Regions from separate parts of the Homo sapiens genome. Here region 2 is linked to region 1. Evidence: promoter capture Hi-C in 16 types of primary human blood cells and fetal thymus (Javierre and others, 2016). All regions are on one chromosome and are shown on one strand. The core of a region is centred on a gene start or on the middle of the fragment in contact, and the rest is flanking DNA. Distances in the headings are between cores, read along the strand shown. Region 1 holds the start of LINC02902 (long intergenic non-protein coding RNA 2902). Region 2 has its middle 41 kb from the start of FIGNL1.

Region 1 (6,002 bases), core at 1,871-4,370:
TGGGATTGGGGTACATACAAAAGGGTAAAAACCAACTAGAACACAAGGAGATAAGTGCAGCAACTGCCATACTCATCTAGTGCTTACCCTGTGTCAAGTGTTAAATACTTCCCACATTTCCATTCAATGAATGATCACACATCCCTACAAGGAACTCAGATATTAACCCCATATTTTTTTTTAAGACAGAATCTCACTCTGTCACCCAGGCTGGGGTGCAATGGTGCGATCTTGGCTCACTGCAATCTCCGCCTCCCGGGTTCAAGCAATTCTGCTGCCTCAGCCTCCCGAGTAGCTGGGACTACAGGCATGCACCGCCACGCCCAGCTGATTTTTGTATTTTTAGCAGAGACGGGGTTTCACCATGTTGGCCAGGATGGTCTCCATCTCCTCACCTCGTGATCTGCCTGCCACGGCCTTCCAAAGTGCTGGGATTACAGGCATGAGCCACGCACCCAGCCATTAACCCCATTTTAAGGATAAGAAGAGTGAGGCACAGAGATGTTCCAATTTTGACAGCTACAGAGCGGCAGAGTAAGATATAGACCCAGGCCGTCCCGCACCCAGTTCATGCCCTTGACCACTTGTACCAAAGACACTTGACTAATTCAATCAGCAAGTACACAGGCCTCCAGAGGAGGGAAGTTTAATTCTATGTAGAATCCTGCAGGCTGAGTTCGGGAGTAAATAAGGCCTTGATGCACAGAGAAGGTGGGAGAGGCATTCCAGAGAGAAGGCACAGGTTGAGCGAAGATGCAATGGCAAGAAGCTTGAAGGCCAAAGGTCACATAGAGGGACAGTCCCGGAGGGGATGTGAGGAAGTCAGGACAGGGACAAAATGGGAATGGAGGCCTCCAAAGTCCCACTCACTTCATTACAGGAGAATCTAATTACGCTATTCATAGATGGGAAAAGGCAGCCAGGCAGCAGAGCAGCAGCGCCAAAGGAACAGAGGAGATCAAGGGGAAGGTGTCCGTGTCTGCAAGATGAGGTGCTCAGAGCAGGGGGTGCAGGGCTAGCTGGGAGACGCGTCTGGAAGGGCAGTGGGTGAGGGCCAGAAGTGGCTACATCTTGGAGGTCACGGGGAGCCCTTGACATACCCCCAACACCACCTACCAAGACTGACACTGTCAGGTGTGTGGCAAGCAGCATGCACAGTGGGCTACTGTGAAAAGACGCATGTGCTCAAGTGCATGTGTGTACAGAAAGAGACGTCCAAGGGTATCAACAACACCTTAGTGAGAATATCTTGAGGCTCTTGAGACAGGTTGACCATTTTCTTTCTTTTTTTTGCGGGGGGGGACGGAGTCTTGCTCTGTTGCCCAGGCTGGAGTGCAGTGGCACGATCTCCACTCACTGCCACCTCCGCCTCCTGGGTTCACGACATTCTCCTGCCTCAGCCTCCGGAGTAGCTGGGACTACAGGCGCCCACTACCACGCCCGGCTAATTTTTTATATTTTTAGTAGAGACGGGATTTCACCGTGTTAGCCAGGATGGTCTCGATCTCCTCACCTCGTGATCCACCTGCCTCGGCCTCCCAAGGCCCTGGGATTACAGGCGTGAGCCATCACGCCCGGCCATTTTCTGATACTTTTCTTAAGGCTTGCTAGTACCTTCAGGCTGCTGTAACAAAGTACCATGGACTGGATGGCTCGCACACAACAGAAATTTATTTCTTGCAGTTCTAGTGGCTGAAAGTCCAAGATTAAGGTGCCAGGACATTCGCTGTCTGGGGAGGGCCCACTTTCTCGTTCATTGATGATGCCATCTCCCTGTGTCTTCACATGACAGAAGGGGTGAGTGAGCTCTAAGAGCACTTATCCCATCACGCAAGTCGAGCACTGAGAAGCTATGCAGTCCCTGAAGGCCCACTCCTGGACAGAAATCTCCGTGTTTCTCTTTGTTCTGGTCTTGACTGAATCTAAACAAGTGAAAGGCAGTTCTTGAGCCTGTGTAACCCCCTAACCTGGCCCAAGTTCCAAACACACCTGGATCTTCGCCTTTTTCATCTGTTAATTGTGGCCAATAAAAATACCTTCCTTGGCCGGACGCGGTGGCTCACGCCTGTAATCCCGGCACTTTGGGAGGCCGAGGCGGGCGGATCATGAGGTCAGGAGATCGAGACCATCCTGGCTAACACGATGAAACCCCATCTCTACTAAAAATACAAAAAATTAGCCGGGCGTGGTGGTGGGCACCTGTAGTCCCAGCTACTCGGGAGGCTGAGGCAGGAGAATGGTGTGAACCCGGGAGGCGGAGGTTGCAGTGAGCCGAGATCGCGCCGCTGCACTCCAGCCTGGGCTACAGAGCGAGACTCCGTCTCAAAAGAAAAAAAAAAACTTCCTCCCAGGTTTTAGTCGTTTTTTCCCCGGCACCCCTGCTTGCCACGTGGTAAATGTTCAATACAACTAATATCAATAATGACTCAAGTTTATTGATTACCACCTCTCTCTTTCCTCCATGGAGTGCTTACTGGGAGGATGGAGTCTCTTGGGGTGCGTGGCTTTCCCATACATCAGCATCAGCCATCGCGAGACCCCACGGGCCAGCAGTGTGGACGGGGAGACAAGTGAGGCCTCCCAGCCAGAACAGCTCAGCCTGCCAGGAGAAGCAGAAACCCCCCAAAGTAATCACTTCTCGAGTGCCTTCGAGACCCCAGATGTTGGGAAAACAACTATTTTCCCTTGTGTAAGACATGGCCAGTTTCTTTCCATCTCCTAAACAAATCAAATACAACCCTGAGCCCTCCTCCTTCCAGCCTGGCAGAAAATCCAGCCTTGACATTCTGTGGACTCTCTCTGCCCCACAGGGAGTTACCAAAGCCCTGGGAGCTTTTTCAAATTTTGATGGATAGCAAACATTTTAAAAAAAGACAAAAAATCAAATTATCATGAAGTGGACACGCCCATGTAACCACTTCCCAGGTCCAGAAAGAACAACAGTCATCCAGGACCACCCCCACATCCCTCCCAGCATCCACACCTCCCAGGCCCCACAAAGACCACTGTCCTGACCGCTGCCTCCCTCCCTGGGGCCCGGCCAGAGCCGTCTTCCTTCTGTTGACTCTGTTGGTGCCATCCTCATCCCACTGCCCGGGTGACTCGTCTGCCAAATGCAAGAATCGAATGGGGAGAGGAGTCTAGCGTACCCCCTGAACCCTGAGCCCCAAAGCAGGAGTTTTAGCCACATAGCTTTGGGTTTTCCCAGGATCCCTCGGGTGCCTGGGGCGCAGGATGCCAGGGTATAGGAGCTCTGCTCTCATGACGGGTGAATCCCCTGGTTCTCCTGTAAGTGCAGAGATGCTAGGGTAGTTCCCACACTCAAATATTCCCCGAGCCAGGGCTGGGCGCCTGTGGGAATCCCAGCAATCCTACAGTTTCACTGAAGTCCTATAATTTCCCGTACCCTGCCTCTATTTCAGGGACCTGCTGCTCAGAATGTGGAAATGCAGATGTGGTTTGCTTGTGTTGCCATTGTTCTCGTGAGCTGTAAGGCAGTGATTACAGGCTCCGTGGGCGGCAGGGAGCAGCCAACTGGATTGACGGCACATTCTTAGCTTATTTTAAAATCAGTAACAGCATTAATAAAAATCCTGTGCCTTCCCATTTACTTTTTCTTCCAAAAGAAAAAATACTGTACTTCCTAGCAGTCTGTGGCTGGAGTGGGAAGAAAGGAGAAATCATTTGAAAGTGTGAGGAATATCAGAGGAAATTTTAGAAAGGACCCTAGGCCATCTCTAGCTTTCTCATAGCAGTGACCCTGTTCCTCCCCCCAGATTGGGACACTTTAATTTTTTTTTTTTTTTTCAAGACAAAGGAGTCTCGCTCTGTTGCCCAGGCTGGAGTACAGTGGTGTGATCTCGGCTCATTGCAACCTCCACCTCCCAGGTTCAAGCAATTCTTGTGTCTCAGCCTCCTGAGTAGCTGGGATTACAGGTGTGTGCCAGGACACCCAGCTAAGTTTTTGGTATTTTTAGTAGAGAAAGGGTTTCACTGTGTTGGCCAGCCTGGTCTCGAACCTGTAACTTCAAGTGGTCAGCCCACCTCGGCCTACCAAAGTGCTGGGATTACATGCGTGAGCCACCGGCCCGGATGATTCACTTCTTAATAAATCATCCAACCCAATGATTTGGTTCCAAAAGAAACAGATAACATTCAAACACTGTTTCCTCTAGTTCATACTGTAAGACAATGTATTTTAGATACATTTTGCTTGAAATCCACAAACTTGTCAAATACCCACCTGGGTAGAGGAGGACAGCAGAACTGAAGGGCAAGAGGGCTCAGCCAGACTTCCCTCCCCGAGCTCCCGGGAGAAGGTTAATCACTTCGATCTAAACCAGGCAGGGCAGAGACCTAGGAGGCAGGAAGTCAGTTTAAAGGATGTGACATTGGCATTTGCCCAGCGGGTGATGGGAGAGGGAGGTTGAGGTCGTAACACTTCATTTTCATTCTGCATCTTACAAAGACTCCGACCTCTGAGCTAAACTGACTTGGGCCAGCTCCCACCTAGTGAACCTCAGCTCCTCCTCCTCAAGTGAGGCTGTCACCTTGCAGGTAAGCAGAGAGTTTGTGAGTCTAAAAGGAGAGAAACTCTAGGAGAGGAAAGGCTCTGTAGCCATGGGCCTGGAGGAGCCTGAGGCTCTATTTGTGGAATGAGTGTGTTAGAGGAACTGGGGGTCTGGACCAGATAAGAAAGTCCCCAGCTTTAGGCAGTACATGTGTCCAGTAGAGGCAGCAGACAGACTTGCTGGCCAGAGGGGCTGAAGCCATCATTCGGGCCCCAAGGCCAGAGGGTCCAAGGCACATGATAGAGATGGCCGGCGTGACTGAGAGGCATGAAGTTGGAAATAAAAAATAAATTATGGAATCAGAGAGAAGTATGGGTTGTTTTCCATGGACTATGCCTGATATTCTTGTTCAATTTAACCTGATTTAGAACTGGTTCAGTTTTATCATTTTATTTGTACAAACTTATGGAGTACAAGTGTAACTTTGTTACATAGATATATTGTTGTATTAGTCTGTTTTCACACTGCTATAAAGATACCACACAAGATTGGGTAATTAAAAAAAAGAAAGAGGCTTAATTGACTCACAGTTCTGCATTGTTGGGGAGATCTCATGAACCTTACAATCATGGCAGAAGGGGAAGCAGTCACCTTCTTCAGAAGGCAGCAGGGGAGAGAGTGCAAGTGAAGGAGTGACTGCCCAACACTTATAAACATATCAGATCTTGTGAGAACTCCCTCACTATCACTAGAACAGCATGGGAAAAGCTGCCTCCATGATCCAATCTCCCTCCACCAGGTCCCTCCCTCGACACAACATGTGGGGATTACAGTTCCAGATGAGATTTGGGTGGGGACACAGAGCTGAACCATATCAATTGTGTAGAGGTATTTTAGTGTATCCAACATCCAAATAATGTACATTATACCTATTAAACAATTTCTCATCATCCACCCCTCTTCTTCCCTCCACCCTTCTGAGTCTCCCTTCTGAGTCTTCATGGAACTGGTTCATTTTTGTGTGAAACTGTAAACACAAACCACTCCCAAGGACTTGGAATTTCCAGAGTGGCCCCCTTCTGCCTCTTAGGACTCAATTGCAAACCACATACAAGAAAAGGTGATCGTACTGTCTTATTTTAAGTCTCAATTTCATCATCTCCAAGCTTGGCAACAAAGCAAAGGACAAGAAAGAAAAGTATGAAGCTGTCTTTTTTAGAAAAAGAAAGAAGCATCAGGCCAGACAAGGTGGCTCACGCCTGTAATCCTAACACTTTGGAAGACCAAGCAGGCGAATCACTTGAGGTCAGGAGTTTGATCCCGGCCTGGCCAAAATGGTGAAACTCCGTCTATACTAAAAATGCAAAAATTAGACCAGGCGCTGTGGCTCACGCCTGTAATTCCAGATCGCACCACTGCACTCCAGCCTGGGCAACAGGGCGAGACTCCGTCTCAAAAAAAAAAAAAAAAATTAGAAACTTCAAAAGTACC
Region 2 (6,002 bases), core at 1,603-4,102, 2.8 Mb before region 1:
AATCAGTATAGCTACTCCAGGTTTCTTTTGATAGTGTAACTATGGTATTTTTTCCTTAATTTCTTTACTTTTAATCCTTATGTGTCTTTATACTTAAAATGGATTTATTTTTTCCTTTTTTTATTTTTTTGAGACGGAGTCTCACTCTGTCGTCTAGGCTGGAGTGCAGTGGCGCGATCTCAGCTCACTGCAACCTCCACCTCCCGGGTTCAAGCGATTCTCCTGCCTCAGCCTCCTGAGTAGCTGGGATTACAGGCGTGTGCCACCATGTCTGGCTAAGTTTTGTATTTTTAGTAGAGACGGGGTTTCACCATGTTGGTCAGGCTGGTCTTGAACTCCTGACCTCGTGATCCACCCGCCTCAGCCTCCCAAAGTGCTGGGATTACAGGCATGAAAAATGGATTTCTTATAGACAACATCTAGTTGGGTCACATCTTTGGATCCACTGAAACTCTATCTTTCAACTGCTGTCCTTAGACTATTGATGTTTAAAGAGATTATGGGTACATTTGGATTCATGTTGATTACATTTGTAACTGTTCTCTATTCTATGTGTGGGCCTTTTTGTTTTGTTTTGTGTTTGTCTTCCACTCTTCTTGCCTTCTTTGCTTTGAGTATTTTGTATAATTCAATTTGTCCCCTCTCTGCCTTCTCTTTTTCAAGATTCAGCTGAGGTGCACTTGGTCCCATGGGTCCTGTGTACCTTTGGGTCCTGGGTGTCTGTGTCGGCAGCACAGAGCTTGTCTGTGGACAGTCTTGCCTGACGGTTGCCCATTTCACCCGCAGCTCCTCCAGGGTGGTGGCCTTACATTCTCAAGTCTCTGACCCTGGCTCCTGGTCCTGGGATGACAAGGTCAGGCCTAGTCAATGCTGGTGGGACAGGACAGAACTATGTATATAGGGCGGCACTTGAATGAGCATTAACACAAACACACATTCATAGTACTAAAAGCATGTTTACATTGGAAAATAAAAAGCCCCAGAAGCTTTCTTGAGGGAAATCCCCTCTCCCCCACGCCGACTGCTGCACAGCTGAACTCCTCCATGACCAAAGGGGGCTCTTCCGGCCTTCCCTGCCCCACAGCCCTTCTCTAGATTCAGCCAATTCACCTCAGGGCCAGAGGCTCTGCCTGTCCCCTGGAGGAGTTCTTTGTCCAAAAGAAGGGCCTGAATGCTAAGATGAGGAGAGTACCCTCCTGGAGCACCCAGGAAGCCCAGGGGTCAGCACGCTATTGCGTCTGGCCCTTTCTCTGGGAGTAGGGGAGGAGGGCAGTTGATGTTGGCTGTGGAGCAAGTAGAAAGATGGCCAGAGCTTCAAAGGGAAAGCCATGGGCCTCAGGCCCACGTCATTGACTGGGGCAAGATAAGACCTCAGGGAGTCCAGGGCTCTGGGAAGGAATCTCCAGCAGAAGCTTCTTTCTGTTGTTATTGGAGGCTCAGGATGTGTGAGACCAGCCTCTGCCCTCCACAGGCTCACAGTCCAATGGAGGAGGTGGACATCCCATACACTGCGGGGTGAGAGCCCTAAGACGGCTGACATGAGGGCTTGAGGAATTCAGAGACCAGATCTTGAGAAAGCTCCAAAAATTAGGTGCAATAAGTTCTGCCTTGTCCCAGAAGAACTCAGCAGGCAGCCAAGCATGGGAAGACTTCCCAGGACCAGCAGGGCCCTGTGATGCGAGGAAACCTGGGAATCGGGTGTGATTTGGAGGTTGGGAGGAGGCTGGGGGATCATCTGGGGTCACATCTCACTGAGGATGGATGCCTTCCTGAAGATGAGATCTGACCTGGGAGACCAGCTGACCAGCTTCCCTCAGCTCTTGGGGTCCCTGCCTCCATGCTTGTCAGCTTTAATTTCCCATCAGTGCACGAAAACACACAACCATTCTCCCATGGGGTGGTATGAGAGACCAACTTAAAAAAGGAATCGTGGTGCTCACAGAGGTGGGAAGTGGGTGTGGGCAGAGGGGATTTACAGAGGATTTTGCAAGGGGCAGTGCCCACTGAGGGTGGGGATCAGGGCAGTGCCCAGAGGGAGGAGGTCCCTGAAAGGGGAATCAAATTGAGGGACCCTGAAACTGCACACCCTCCTTACTGTGGGGCCCAGCCCACCCTCTACCCACAGGAAGCTGGAGGGAGAATGACAATGAGGAAGCTCGCGCAGGTGCCTGGGGAGGAACAGCACCGTGAGACGGTGGCGGAGAGGAGGCCGCAGCCACTGAGGCCTTCTGGGAACCTGGGATCACATGTGGTCGCAACCACAGAGAGAGGTCTTAGGGTGGCCTTGTTCAGGAGAGGCCCATATGCATGTGCATGGTACCTCCTCAGGCCCAGGGGGGTAGCAAAGCAGAGAGAGAAGCCAGGGCTGACTCATGGGCAGAGAAACAGAAACATTGGGACAATTCACACACTCAACGTCACAACTAGTTGGTTTGACAAAACATGGGAAAGAAGAAGTGAAATTTGTTAACTGTATCGAGATCCATGCAGTTCACTTCAGGGGACAGTTTTGGTACCAAATTATCCTTATTATGCAAATTCCCTCCCCCAGCAGGTTCCAGTTGTGCCCGGGGACCCATGGCGGGTGCATCTGCTTCCCATAGTTCCGATTCACCGAGTTGCCAGGGCCCATCTGCTCAGCCCAGGCCCAGGGCCTGCGGCCAGGGAGGAGGGGGCGTGGGCAGGGGCCAGGCTGTTGCTCCAGGACCTGCAGGGCCACTCCTGGAGCTGGAAGGTGATGCAGCCTGCCTTGAGAAGCCCAGATCCCAGACGTGGACAGGAGACAGAGTTCTAGGGATGTCTGCCTTGTTCCTGTCTTGGCCATGTCAAAAAGCAGAAAAAGCAAGGGAGTATCCCCATGAGGCTCTTACCTTTCTCCTTAGAAAAGTGCAGCCAAGAACTTGGCCTTTCCAAAGCATCGGCCTCCATGAGGCCTGGGCTGCATTGCAGGGTCCTGTCTTCTTTGCCGGCTGCTCTCCAGAGCCCATCTCTGCCCACCCTTGCAGTCCACTGTCACCCACCACTTGAAGGTCATTGCCAGCATCCTAAACACTTGACTCAGTGGTCTCATCTCTGCCCCCTTCCTTATTGCATTGGCTTTGTTGAACCTATTTGTGGGCCTCTTCTTTTGAATTAAAAAAACAATTCTGAGATGCTGTCCCCAATGAGTTTTCCTATCTGGAAAAGCCCCTCTTATTTCCTTTGCCTAATTCCTCCTGCTTCTCCTCTCCCCACGCTCCCCAGAACCATCCCCTACCCTCCACCTCTTTCCTGAGGCGACATGTACCTGTCACAGCTCCCATTATAGTAGCCTATGCCTCATGACTCCCAAATGCATTGGCCATCCATGGGGACCCGGCTGTCCCACCCATGCTTACACAAAGCCAAGTTCCCCTCCTCCAATCCTCTGCCCATTTTCCCTTTTCTCAGTAATGGCTCATATAGGCTCTGAGACTGGGTTTCACCTCCTTACCTCTCGTCAAAGCACAATAGATTTAATTATCTTAAAAAGATGTTATGCAACAAATATTTATTGAGCATCTAATATGTTCCAGGTACTCTTTTTGACACTGAGGATATGGCATTAAATAAATACAAAAAATCCCTGCTCTTGGAGCCTGCGTTCTAGTGGCAGAGTCCAGTCCTCTCTTCTCTGCTTCTCTCCTCTCCTGACTTCTGCTGGTTAGTGTCAGCATCCTTGCTGTGGGTAAAGCCTCTCTTCTGCCTGGATGGCATGGCCCCCTTCACTGTCTCCAGAGTTCTCATTGCATCACCCCCTCCCCCTCACCTCCTAAGACTCCTGGATGCCTCCCTATCCACCTGTTCAAACTCCTCCTATCCTCAGTCTACATTTCTGAATTTATCTCCTATTTTTTTCCCCTTGAGTACTCTTTCCCAGACAAACAGGGCTATTGCTGTTGGACTTCTGGTTCTGACATACAACAGATTTCATTCACATTTGTTCTGTCTTGAATGCCCTTCTTACACCCCCAATCCTCTGCTTCCAACATCAAAATCCCAATCATTCCGAAAAGCTGGGATCAGACAAGATCTCTTCCAGGAAGCCTTCTGTAATCCTCAAGTGAGAAGTGATGTTTCCTTCCACTGGGCTTTTACAGCACTTTAGAGCGCTTTTCATTGCACCTTGTTTTGTAATCACCTTTGTGCTGGGTCATTTCTCCCTGTGCTTTCTAGAGTGCAGGCACAGGAGTCAGGTGCTCAGGGACAAGTGCTGGTCCTAGTATTTCCAGCTGTGTGACCCCAGGCAGGTTACTCAGCTTTTCCAAGCTTCGAAGTCCTCATCTGCAGAACTGGAGGTGACAATGGTACTTGTAGAGACAGACAGGGAGTACACATGGCACAAGCAGGTGGTTACAGCGCCCAACCCCTGTGATGCTGTGAGCCTTGATCCCAGCACATAGCCAGGCACTGAAGGCTGAGGAGCGATGTGATGTGAGTGGGTCAAGTCATTATGTGATGTCAGGAGTGTCTCTTTTATCAAGAAGATATTGATTTACTTTATTTCCAACTTCCCAGTCTCTGCTTTGCAGCTCAAGTTATTCAACAAACCAATGAAGGATCTTAAGATTAAGAAGAGCCAGAGACAAGATGCAGTGCAGAGAGAACAGAATGGAGTCAAAAGTCAAATGTGTCAATGTGTGTTGGGGGCAGGGACACAGAGGGGGCACTGTCTAATTGGGGGAAATGTCCCTGCTCTTGTCCTTGGTCTTGAGTTTATTGGTTGTAATTGTACTCATCTTTGACTAGATACCTCTAGGCTCCCTGATATTTTTCAGAGCTCTCCCAGTCCACTGATGCTTAGCTTAGCTTGTGTTTTCAGCTCTCTGAAACATCCTTTCATTGCTCAGACTCTGTTTGGCTCTCATTTCTTTTCCTGGTCCTTCTGCCCTTCTGTTTCTAGTTCAGATTCATGCATTCTCCTTTCAGAGACCAGCTCTCCAGCAGCATCAGCCACATTGCATGCTCTGTGGGGCTGGAGGGGACCAGAGCTGTCCAAAAACCCCCAACCCCACCTCCTCACTCTGTGCCTGCCCTGGCATATGCCCTCGAGATGCCTCTGAATTCTCTGAAGTGAAAGAGCCTGCTCCCCTAGGTGGAGGTTGGGAAACTTGACATGCAATTTGTGGGTGAGTTTGGTTGAGGAGGCAGCCAAGGGAAAACCCTCTGAAAGCAGGTTTTCACCCGCATCTTTCTCCTCCCCTCCCTGGAATTCAGAAGCTATGGGATTGCCAAACCCTGTCATTCCCACGTATCAAATCCCACATCCTCCCTGGAGGAAGCACTGCCGAGATGGAACAGGAGCCAAGAGAAGAATGGGCTTGAGGGGCCTGGGCCCATCCTGCCTCTGCAGCACTGGACTCTGGGTGCTCTGTGGAGCCCTGAGATGCAGTTCTTTCACTTTACGATGGGGCACATATCATCTTCCCCAGGCTCACCCAGAACATGCCCAGCATGGTGATGGCTGAGAAGGAGGTTTGCTGCTTCGCAGACACAATTGTTTGATCTCTAAGGGGGATGTGGATGGGTCCCTGTCTCACTTGGCTGTCATGCAGCTGGAATGAGATAAGGGGGCTAGAAGGAGCTATACAAACGCCAGGTGAGGCAGGAAAGGCTGAGCAGCCACTCCCACAGCACTGAGTCCAGTGGTCCACAGACACTGAGGATTTAATCCTTCCTGTAACCCTCCAGGCTTTCAGTGAGGAGAAAACTGGGGCTCAAAGAGGTTAGACCATGTGTCCCATGTCACACAGCGTTAATGTACAGAGCAGATATTCACACCCAGGCTTCGCAGCTCCAGAGTCCCATTCCTAATCACCATGCCTTATGCACATCTTAACATGCCCAGAGGGACACCTCTAAGGCAGGGCCACCTTGTGCTCCTGGCTGAGGAAATGGCACTTGGCTTTGGAGTAGCAGGAAACCAGGGGAGATCTGTGTGCAGGGCAGTGTCAGTGATTGATCAGGTTCCTGGTTTAACACAA

Evidence for each region. The method cuts DNA at HindIII sites, captures the fragments that hold promoters and counts their contacts. A CHiCAGO score of 5 or more calls a contact.
Region 2: a contact is called between a fragment that was not itself captured here and the fragment with the promoter of LINC02902 in region 1, in 1 of 17 cell types (naive B cells). The highest score is 5.3, in naive B cells.

Annotation. Positions count from the first base shown.
Region 1 is chr7:47,652,362-47,658,363 of GRCh38, reverse strand. It overlaps LINC02902 (long intergenic non-protein coding RNA 2902), which reads right to left and starts at 3,120. Exons shown (of 3, transcript NR_171030.1): 1 at 3,016-3,120. The HindIII fragment of the contact is 4,908 bases long and covers 772-5,679 here.
Region 2 is chr7:50,406,569-50,412,570 of GRCh38, reverse strand. No RefSeq gene overlaps it. Among named protein-coding and RNA genes, the nearest start is that of FIGNL1, 41 kb to the left of the region's middle. RefSeq lists enhancers at 920-999, 1,500-1,559, 2,235-2,735. The HindIII fragment of the contact is 2,875 bases long and covers 1,415-4,289 here.